2 separate regions of the Homo sapiens genome follow, and region 2 is linked to region 1. Evidence: promoter capture Hi-C in 16 types of primary human blood cells and fetal thymus (Javierre and others, 2016). All regions are on one chromosome and are shown on one strand. Each heading gives the region's core, a stretch centred on a gene start or on the middle of the fragment in contact. The rest is flanking DNA. Distances are from core to core; before and after follow the strand shown. Region 1 holds the start of CMC2 (C-X9-C motif containing 2). Region 2 overlaps NUDT7 (nudix hydrolase 7).

Region 1 (5,044 bases), core at 1,306-3,805:
TTTTCTGAGCTCCAACTACACTAGTCTCTTAAATAATCTCTAGAGAAGGACCATTGTGCCTGCAGTTACAACTGCCTAGAAGGTTCTTCCTGCACATGTTCTCTCCAGTGACTTCTTGCAATTCTGGTGTTAGCTTAGATGGTTTCTCCTCAGACTTATCCTGACCACCCAACCAAAAGTTACTTCCCCACTCTCCACTGCTAATTGTTTTTTTCCTTTTTTTTAGACGGAATCTTGCTGGGTCACCCACATTAGAGTGTAGTAGTGGGATTTCTGCTCACTGCAGCCTCCTGCAGCCTCTGCCTCCCAGATTCAAATGATTCTCCTGCCTCAGCCTCCCGAGTATCTGGGATTACAGGTGTGCACCATGACACCCAACTAATTTTTCTACTTTTAGTAAAGATGGGGTTTCACCATGTTGGTCAGGCTGGTCTTGAACTCCCAAGCTCAAGTGATCCTCCCGCCTCGGCCTCCCAAAGTACTGGGATTACAGGCGTGAGCCTCTGCACCAGGCCATCCACTGCTAATTGTCTTTACAGAACTATCTGAAATTATCTTTTTAACTTTTCTTGTTTCTAAAATTGAGCTCCAGGGCAGGACGATGTTTTTATTCACAGCTATACTCCTAGACCAGAACTGCCTCACTATAGTCAGTAAGTCTAATCAGGCCAAGAACAGTCTAATGTGTCTTTGATAAATACTTGTGGAATGAATGCCTGAGGAGACAACCTGGGTGGTTTGGGGTTCAACAGTCAGTGAAACATCAAATCAACACCTCTCCCATTAAGAACACGGGCGAGGGGCCGGGAGCGCGCCGGGCGTGGTGTATCACTTGAGGTCAGTCGTTCAAGACCACCCAGGCCAACATGGTGAAACTCCGTCTCTACTAGAAATACAAAAATTAGCCGGGTGTCGTGACGCACACCTCTAGTCCCAGCTACTCGGGAGGCTGAGGCAAGAGAACAGCCTGAATCCGGGAGGAGGAGGTTGCAGTGAGCCGAGAACGTGCCACTGCCCTCCAACATGGGCGACAAAGCAAGACTCCGTCTCAAAAAAACAAAAAACAAACAAAAAAACCCACAGACGAGGCTACCCGTTAAAATGAAGATTCCTGGGCCCTATCAAATTAAACTGTGAGGAGGGCGCACGGAGGGCTTGAGATTTAGCATCTTTTAAAAAGTACGTCAGATGATTTATTCCGGGTAAAGTTTGCAGAACGCCAGTCTAAAGAAATTTGGTAGAGCGCCCTCAGTCTCACCAATTAAGACGGAAATCCCTTTAGTAAACGTTTACCCCGTGACCATTTTTAAACTTTCCTTTTTTTGTTGTTTCGGAGACACAGTCTCGCTTTGTCGCCCAGGGTGCAGTGCAGTGGCGCGATCTCGGGTCACTGCAACCTCCGCCTCCCGGGTTCATGCGCTTCTCCTGCCTCAGCCTCCCAAATAGCTGGGATTACAGGCACCCGATACCACGTCCGGTTAATTTTTGTATTTTTAGTAGAGACGGGGTTTCACCATGTTGGCCAGGCTGGTCTCGAACTCCTGACCTAAGGTGATCCGCCCACGTCGGTCTCCCAAAGTGTTGGGATTACAGGCGTAAACTACCGCGCCTGGCCCCATTTTAAAACTTTCTTTATACTTCCTAGCGTTTTAGTGTCTGACATACAGTAGATGCTCAAGATCTGTGGAACGCATGATCAAAAAGATCCATTTTAAGTAACGTTCCCGTAGCCACACACCTCTGCTGCGCTCCAACAGGCAATGCGAGGAGCAACGCAAGAGGGTACAGGGACAAAAAACGACGGAAGCCGAGGTGACAGAAAAGCAAAACCCCAACTCTGGGAAAGGAAGCAACCCCAGGATCGTAGAGCGGAGCCCCTGGTCACATGACCACACGGCCCTCCCCTGACGCAGTCGCGAGCCTACGAAAGGCTCCACCCGCCCCACCGCGGGCGAGGTGACGTCACAGCCGGCACAGCGCCACCGCCCCCTCACCTCGGCCCGAACCGTAGTTCCTCGCCCCGAGCCCGAGACCCAGCGCCAATCCTGCGCCTCACAACGTGCGACAATTGCGAAAAAGCCACCCCCGAGGCCTGGGATCTGGCTTCCTCAAGGCCCCACACCCTCCGGGGCCCGATCCAGTGCCGCCCGGGGCTCTCTTACCGGCCCACATCTCCTGCAGTCTCACTCCTCAAGAGCTGTTCCCGCTCGCCGCGCCTTCAAAGCCACCAATTGCAGTTCCCGCCGCCTCCAAGCTCCGCCCACCGGAGCACAAGCATCAGGCTGTGTCTTGGGCACAGGGGACTGCACGGGGGAGCGACTGAAGCGAAGGTCGCCGAGCCCCCCACGCCGCTCTTCTTAGAAGTGTGCAACCTTGCACCAGTAGTGGACTTACACATAGGCTCCGTTAGGACCTGGCTTATGTGCTCGGCTTGTGGCTTAGACGCTGCCGTGCCCCAGTGGACTCACTGTGCCTCCCCCCACGACGGACGGAAATGGGCCCCTCCAGGACAGGCGGCGCATGCGCCTTGGGGCCCGCGGGCGGCGGGGGCGAGGAGCCGGGAGCACGGTGGAGCGGTGGAGGGCGTCACTGGGTTTCGGCGTCTGGCAAGCGGTTCAGCTGTCTGCTCCCTAGCAGCCGGCCTTCGGGTCGGGCGTCTCCGCCGGCTACTGCCGCTTCAGTTCTCCCGGTGTGGCCACGAGTCGGGTGAGTCTCGGGAGTCCAGGCCGTTCCGAACGCGTTCCGTTGTTCCTCCTCAGGTCCCTGATGGCGCGTCCCGCCGAGCCCCTTCCTGCCGCCCGTCGGCCCCAGGAGGTGGGGACCAGGAAGACCCGGCTGCCGCAGGCCCACAGCCGGGCTGCTGCGCTGGGGAGGCTGCGAGCGAGGTGGCTGGGCGCTCGCTGGAACACGCTGGTGGCCGAGACAGGCCGTGGGCGTCGCTCGGGGTTGGGATCCGCCCGCCACTCACTCAACTGGCTGGTGACCTTGGGCGCGCTCCTCCCCTCCCGGAGCCGGGGCTTCCTCGCCGGTAAAATGGACCTTGAGGAATGGAGCCCTCAACACAGGGTTTGACACGATGAGCGCCCAATAAAGTGTTGTTATTGTTGTTTATCTAGCAATTGAGAATTTGCGGGTAGAAAACGGGGGCCGTTCAAGCAAGTCTCAGCTGCAGTGCCCTGTGATGTGAGAACCCACCAAGAGCCCCATCAGTACACTTTACTCTTTTTTCTCCTTTAATGCTTTTTTTTTCCAGGAAAGTAATACATTCATCTTGCTTTTCTTGCGTTTAAAGATCAGGCGTTTTACGTAGAGTCTTAAGTAAATCAGTTTTGGAAGTCTTCATTTAAAACCTCAAAGGCATGGAAGTTTTCGATGGCAAAGGAATTATGTTGTGATGCCATTCGTATCTCCTCTCCTTTATATGTATGGCTTTTGCACTTGTTTAGTTGATTTAAAATGAGTTTCTTTTTCATCCTTTTCCTACTGCGTTGAGGCCTGAACTAGTTGTCAGTTTCTGACATTCCGCGAACATCGATTGGGCATTTACCATGTGCATTGGCAAGAATGCTCCCTCACGAGCCTGTGCGTTCCTTGAGATGTGTGAACGAGTATTTTCCTCTGAAATTCACATGATTCTGGCAGAGTGCTAGGCACCTTGTAAGTCCTGGTAATGTTTATTCAGGGAAAGCTGCGAGGGCGCATTCTCTGAGAAACTCTTCGGTGGAAGTCAGAGTAGTTAAGCCCTTCTCCCTAGGCAGCACCCCCGGGTCCCTCCCAGAAGCAGCCTGGCATGGGGTCTACAGTGCCAGCGCCAGTCGCTTTCTTAGTGGTATCGGTTTAGAACTGGTCCTGTGATAAGTGGAAGTGGGCAGGGGAGGCCGTCCCCGACCGTGTCTGCGACCTCTGCTGCAGTATGGCTCATAGCTTGAAAAGTTGAAAAATAATTCTTTAATACCAGGGCCGAAATGTAGGCCTTAAAAATGTTTTATGTTATTTATTTATATATATATATATTTAAATTTTATTTTGAGACGGCGTCTTGTTTTGTCGCCCAGGCTGGAGTGCAGTGGCGCGATCTCGGCTCACTGCAACCTCCACCTCCCGAGTTCTAGTGATTCTCGTGCCTCAACCTCCTGAGTAGCTAGGGTTACAGGCCACGCCTGGCTAATTTTTGTATTTTTAGTAGAGACGGGGATTCACCATGTTGGCCAGGCTTGTCCTGACCTCAAGTGATCTGCCTGCCTCGGCCTCCCGAAGTGGTGGGATTACAGGCGTGAGCCACCGCGCCTAGCCTAAAAAGATATATTTTAGAAAGCGGAGTGTTTACAGTTTTTTTTTCTGGAGAACAGTTTCTTCAGACTCTGCACAACAGACTTTTCTGGCCTTGTTTTTTGCTTATTTTGCAGTAGCATTAGAAATTACAACTGTAGTGTAAATTTCCTGTGCAGCCGCACAATAGGAAAATCTTTCTAAAGAAAAGCCAACTGGCATTAAAATACAGGGTTCTTCCTTGTGATTATAGATTTGCTGAAGTGAGTTATTAGAATGCTTACCCGTTTTCTTTATACTAGAGTTAATACAGCGCTGGCTCTTGGTTTATTTTCTAAAATTGTGCCACCTGGTGGTTGAAATCTGTCTTAGACTACTCTTGAGGAAAATTGTACCTCAGAGTCAGTAGACAAAGATTGAAGGAGTGAGTAAAAGAAAGCTATAATTTTTATATCTTCACTAAGAGTACCCTACCGCTTCTACCCTCCCAGCTTACTCCCCAGGAAAAGTTAAAATTGCCCTTATGGGCCCCTTAGCTAGCTATCAAAACACATTTGACAGCTGAAAATTTTAAGGAATTTCAGTGGACTGTTTTGGTATCATTGTGTGCATACACAGTGGATGGGGCTGGATTGAGGAGGGAGGTGGTGGAATCGTGACAAGTTTACCTTTTTGATGTTTTCTTAAATGCCATTGTAAAGATGAGACTGACAAACTGATGGAAGTCAGAGTAGTTAAGCCTTCCTCCCCAGGCAGTCCCTGGGGTCGCTCCCAG
Region 2 (5,044 bases), core at 2,545-5,044, 3.3 Mb after region 1:
AGAGAATGGGGTGCAGGGAGGAGGGTGGAGGAGGGTAGAAGAGGGGACAGAGGAGGGATGCGAGGTCAAGGGTGTGGGGGAGAAGAGCAGGACCGATAATGCAGAGCAGCTAATTCCTGAAAACTATAAAGTGGGTGGCTTTGAAGGCCTGAAGGGCTGTGCCCAGGTGTGCAATGGAGAAAGGGGTTTGCCAGCTCTTTGCTGGGCACCAGGGATCTAGGGTTCTGAGAGGAGTCCCTTATCCAAGGTGGACCCGGACAAGGAGATAACGAAAACATAGGTAGCATCCAACAGCATGCAGCACTATGGCATGCCAGCAGCCGTGCTGGGCGTTTTACAGATCTCTTTCAGGCTCAGAACAACCTTGCACATGAGGCGCTGTTTTCAGGCCCATTTTAGGGATGAGAAAACCGAGGTGATTAAGAGATTTACGAACTTTGCAGGCTGGGCGTGGTGGCACACGCTTGTCATCTCAGCACTTTGGGAGGCCAAGATGGGCAGATCACCTGAGATCAGGAGGTCAAGATCAGCCTGGCCAACCAACATGGTGAAACTCCCTCTCTACTAAAAATACAAAAATTAGCCAGGCGTGGTGGCGTGCACCTGTAATCCCAGCTAATTGGGAGGCTGAGGTGGGAGAATTGCTTGAACCCAAGAGGCGGAGGTTGCAGTGAGCTGAGATCACGCCACTGCACTCCAGCCTGGGCGACAGAGCGAGAATCCTTCTGAAAAAAAAGAAAAACTTGTTCGAGGTTCCAGAGCTAGTGGGAGATTGCACATTTGAGAAGGGTTAACCCACTTCTTGCCTTGCTTTCCCCATCCACTGGGGGGAAATCTCCTACCAGCGCCCTGCTTGTGTGAGGGGCAGAGCTCCAGTAGAGCTCCAGAGGGAATTTCTCACCCCTACAGCCAGATAGTGTTTACAATCAGATTGAATTAAATTTAAATAGTTTTTAAAAAGTGACCTTAATAATCAACAGGCAAAAGTGGCTCTGGGTGAAACAAAAGAAACTAGAGACCCCGTTGGTTGAGTTTGTAGTATTGTCTAGATTTCCTATATTATTGTTTGTTAGACAATTCTCTTTTATTTATTTATTTATTTTTATTTATTTATTCATTATTGAGATGGAGTCTTGCTCTGTTGCCCAGGCTGGAGTGCAGTGGCACGATCTCGGCTCAATGCAACCTCCACCTCCCAGGTTCAAGTGATTCTCCCTGCCTCAGCCTCCCCAGTAGCTGGGATTACAGGCACCCACCACCACGCCTGGCTAATTTTTTGTATTTTTAGTAGAGACAGGGTTTCGCCATGTTGGCCAGACTGGTCTCGAACTCCTGACCTCAGGTGATCCGCCCACCTCAGCCTCCCAAAGTGCTGGGATTACAGGCGTGAGCCACCGCACACGGCCATATCTGATAATTTTAAAAAATATATGTAAGTGCTTCTCCTGTGCTTATTGGCAGAGGTGGGAACAGACACTGGTCCCCTGGTTTCCATTTAAGTATTTCCCCCTGGAACCTGGATTTCTATCATGTCCTGAGTTCACGGCATTTCTGCCTGGCTCAGACCGAACACAATCCACACAAGTCTACTTCCACGTCCACAAAACTCCAGCTGATTCCTTGGCATTTTTTTTTTAAACAAAATACTTTTCATTATTCTGCTTAAAAAGCCTGTTAATATGGCTTATTTTCTTTTTGTACTTGGATAAGCTTAAAATGACTGCTTCACCAGCTTTTCCTTGGAAGTTCCCCACAGCAAGGGAAACTGACTGTGCTCACGGGTGTGGGGGTGGTAGAGTTTCGATATTTGTCCTTGCCCAAATCTCATGTTGAACTGGAGTCCCCAGTGTTGGAGGTGGGGTCTGGTTGGAGGTGACTGGATCACAGGGGCAGATTTCTCACGCATGGTTTAGCACCATCATCTTGGCACTGTCCCCATGATAGTGAGTGAGTTCTCATGAGATCCGGGGCCATTTAAAAGTGTGTGGTATTTCCCTGCTCTCTCTCTTGCTCCTGCTCCCCCTCTGCCATGATGGTACACTCCCTGAGGCCTTTCCAGAAACTGAGCAGATGCCTGTGTCATGCTTCCTGTACAGCCTGCAGAACCATGACTCAATGAAACCTCTTTTCTTTATAAATTACCCAGACTCAGATATTTCTTTTTCTTTCTTTCTTTCTTTTTTTGAGATGGAGTCTCGCTGTTCCTCAGGCTGGAGCGCAGTGGCACAATCTCGGCTCACTGCAACCTCCGCCTCCTGGTTTCAAGTGTTTCTCCTGCCTCAGCCTCCTGAGTAGCTGGGATTACAGGTGTGTGCCACCATGCCTGGCTAATTCTTTTGTATTTTTAGTAGAGATGGGGTTTCACTATGTTGGTCAGGCTTGTCTCGAACTGCTGACCTCGTGATCCTCCCACCTTGGCCTCTCAAAGTGCTGGGATTACATGCTTGAGCCACCATACCCAGCCTCAGGTATTTCGTTATAGCAATGCAAGAATGGACCAATACAAGGGGTGAGCCAGAAACTCCATTCCCAGCCCATTATTTCTGTAAAGTGACATCATTTATCTTAAAACTTCAGGTCATGTCTGACAGGTCACTTGACACTAACGATGACAGCTAAAACTTACTGAATTCTTCCTTGCCAAGTACCTGGGTTATATAGGTGCTTTACATTTGTTACCCTGTGAAATGTTCATAGCAGCTGTATGAAGCAGTTACTAATATTTTGTCCTCATTTTACAAGTGAAAAGACTGAAGTACAGAGAGGGCAAGTAACGAGGCCAAAGTCACAGCTGGCAAGGAGAGAGCCTGGATTCAACGTGGACAGCTAGCTTTAGAGCCTAGGCCGTTAACTTCTATGCTCTAGTATTTTCACATTATACTGGGGGTGGGATAGTCTAAAACAGTGGCCCTTGGTGGGGGGCAATTTGGCACCCCCAATCCTGCCAGGATAGTAGGCAATTCTGAAGACATTTGTGGTGTGTGTGCTACTGGCATACTGGACAAAGGGACAAAGGTGTGTGTGAGCTTGTGTTTGTGTGTGCTACTGGCATCTGGTGGGTAGAGGCCAAGGATGATGGTAAACACACCACATTATACAGGACAGCCTCCACACCAAAGAATTATTCAGCCCCAAATGCCAATAGCACCAAGGTTAGGTAACCCTAGTGTGAAAGCGTTTTAAACTGCTTGCTAGCTAAATTCCTTCATTTTCTTGTTAAACCTTCTCCAAGAAACACCATGTTATCCTGTGGCTTGTGGTTGTATGCCTCTGACATCACAATTTTGAAAGCCCTTTTGAGAATTTTGGCATCAAAGTGTGTGCAAGTGACAAAATCTCGTGAGGTCTTCTGATGTCCTGAGGTTTAAGGGCAGGAAATTTTTTGTCCACCTACCTTCTCTGACCGGACGGTGAACAACAAATGGAGTTTTCCTTCTTTAGCCACCAATGGCAAAAGGACGGAGTATTTGTTATATGGCAAGTGAGAATATTTGCCTCCAATATCATACTTTCTTAAGCGGGCCTTAGCATCATCTAGCAAACTGTTTCTAAAATAAAAACAAACCAGACAGACATTTTAGCAAGCAGAGTTATGGTAAAAAGCTTATAGTCCTGCCTCTGTTTCTGCTTTGTTGTGTATTTAGGAGTTTGCCATTTCTGACTCTCTGTGTATTTTTCAATAACACGACAGAAATGATACTATCTAAATTGCGTGGTTGTTCGCAAGATGAAAATGACAAAAAAACCTTCTAAGCACACAGTTTAGTACACAGGTTCTCTTTGAAACATAAAGTATGGTAAAATGTTTTTTCAATAATGCAACAGTTGAATTTTGAAACCCATAATTATATTCAGAGAAGACAGGTTTGATGAAAAAGTCATTGTTAAGGTTAGAAGGTTAGAAGACTACCTTCTGTTAAGCTGGCCCTTATGTTCTCAAACTCTTATGTCTTCAACTGCTTATAATAGTGGTTCCCAAGCTTTAGCAGCAACAGAATCACCTGGAGCGCTGGCTGTCACATAGACTGCGAGGTTCAGTCCCAGACTGTGACTCAGTAACTCTGGTGTAGGGCCTGAGAATTAGCATTTGTATCAAACTCCCTCATGACAGCGTTACTGACGCTGTGGACAGGGGAACACATTCTGAGAACAATTTCCCAATAATATGCAAGCATTTGGATTTAAAACCGCAAATGGTGCCCTTCCTATGTGGACTTGTTTTGGTCCTTTTGACAGGTGTGTTCTACTGCTAGTTTGTATAGTGGGTTGAACAGTATCCCCTCACCCCTGAAATTCATGTCTACCCCAAACTTCAGAGTGTGACTTTATTCAGAAATAGGATCTTTTCAGATGTAATTAAAGTGAGCTCTAAATCCAATGACTGTTGTCCTGATAAGAAGCAGAAACGAGCCCAGTGCAGCGGCTCACGCCTGTAATCCCAACACTGGGAGGTTGAGGCGGGAGAATTGCTTGGGCCCAGGAGTTTGAAACCAGCCTGGTCAACATGGTAAGACCCTGTCTCTACAAAAGAAAAAAAAAAAAAGCATAAATTAGCTTAGGCATGGGGCATGCAACTGTATTCCCAGCTACTTGGAAGGCGGAAGTGGGAGGATCACTTGAGCCCCAGAGTTCAAGGCTGCAGTGAGCCATGATTGCACCACTGCACTCCGGCCTGGGTGACAGAGTGAGACCTGACTCAAAAATAAAATAAAATAAAAGAAGAAAAAACATGGAGAGATGCACACAGGGAAGAAGACCATGTGAAGATGGCGGCAGAGGTTGAAGTGATGCTGCTGTGAGCCAAGGAATGCCAGAAACCACCAGAAACTGGAAGAGGCAAGGAAAGGTCACCCCCAGAGCCTTCTAAGGGAGTGAGGCCCTGCCGATACCTTGATTTTGGACTTCCAGGCTTCATAGCCATGAGAGACCATTTCTATTGTTTTAAAACACCCAGTGTGTGGTACTCTGTTATGGCAGCCCTAGAAAAGGAACAGCTGATTTTACTTTTTCTGTGGGAAGGCAGCTTTGCATAGTGGGCAGAATC

Evidence for each region. Contacts are between HindIII fragments. The CHiCAGO score rates a contact against its expected background, and 5 or more counts as called.
Region 2: a contact is called between a fragment that was not itself captured here and the fragment with the promoter of CMC2 in region 1, in 1 of 17 cell types (non-activated CD4 T cells). The highest score is 6.1, in non-activated CD4 T cells.

Annotation. Positions count from the first base shown.
Region 1 is chr16:81,004,396-81,009,439 of GRCh38, reverse strand. It overlaps CMC2 (C-X9-C motif containing 2), which reads left to right and starts at 2,555. Exons shown (of 4, transcript NM_020188.5): 1 at 2,555-2,706. CENPN (centromere protein N) reads right to left here and starts at 2,226. Exons shown (of 11, transcript NM_001100624.3): 1 at 2,163-2,226. RefSeq lists enhancers at 1,718-1,857, 2,168-2,277 and a silencer at 2,448-2,817. The HindIII fragment of the contact is 14,741 bases long and covers 1-5,044 here.
Region 2 is chr16:77,723,935-77,728,978 of GRCh38, reverse strand. NUDT7 (nudix hydrolase 7) reads right to left here. Exons shown (of 4, transcript NM_001105663.3): 2 at 3,395-3,548. Among named protein-coding and RNA genes, the nearest start is that of NUDT7, 3.9 kb to the right of the region's middle. The HindIII fragment of the contact is 377 bases long and covers 3,606-3,982 here.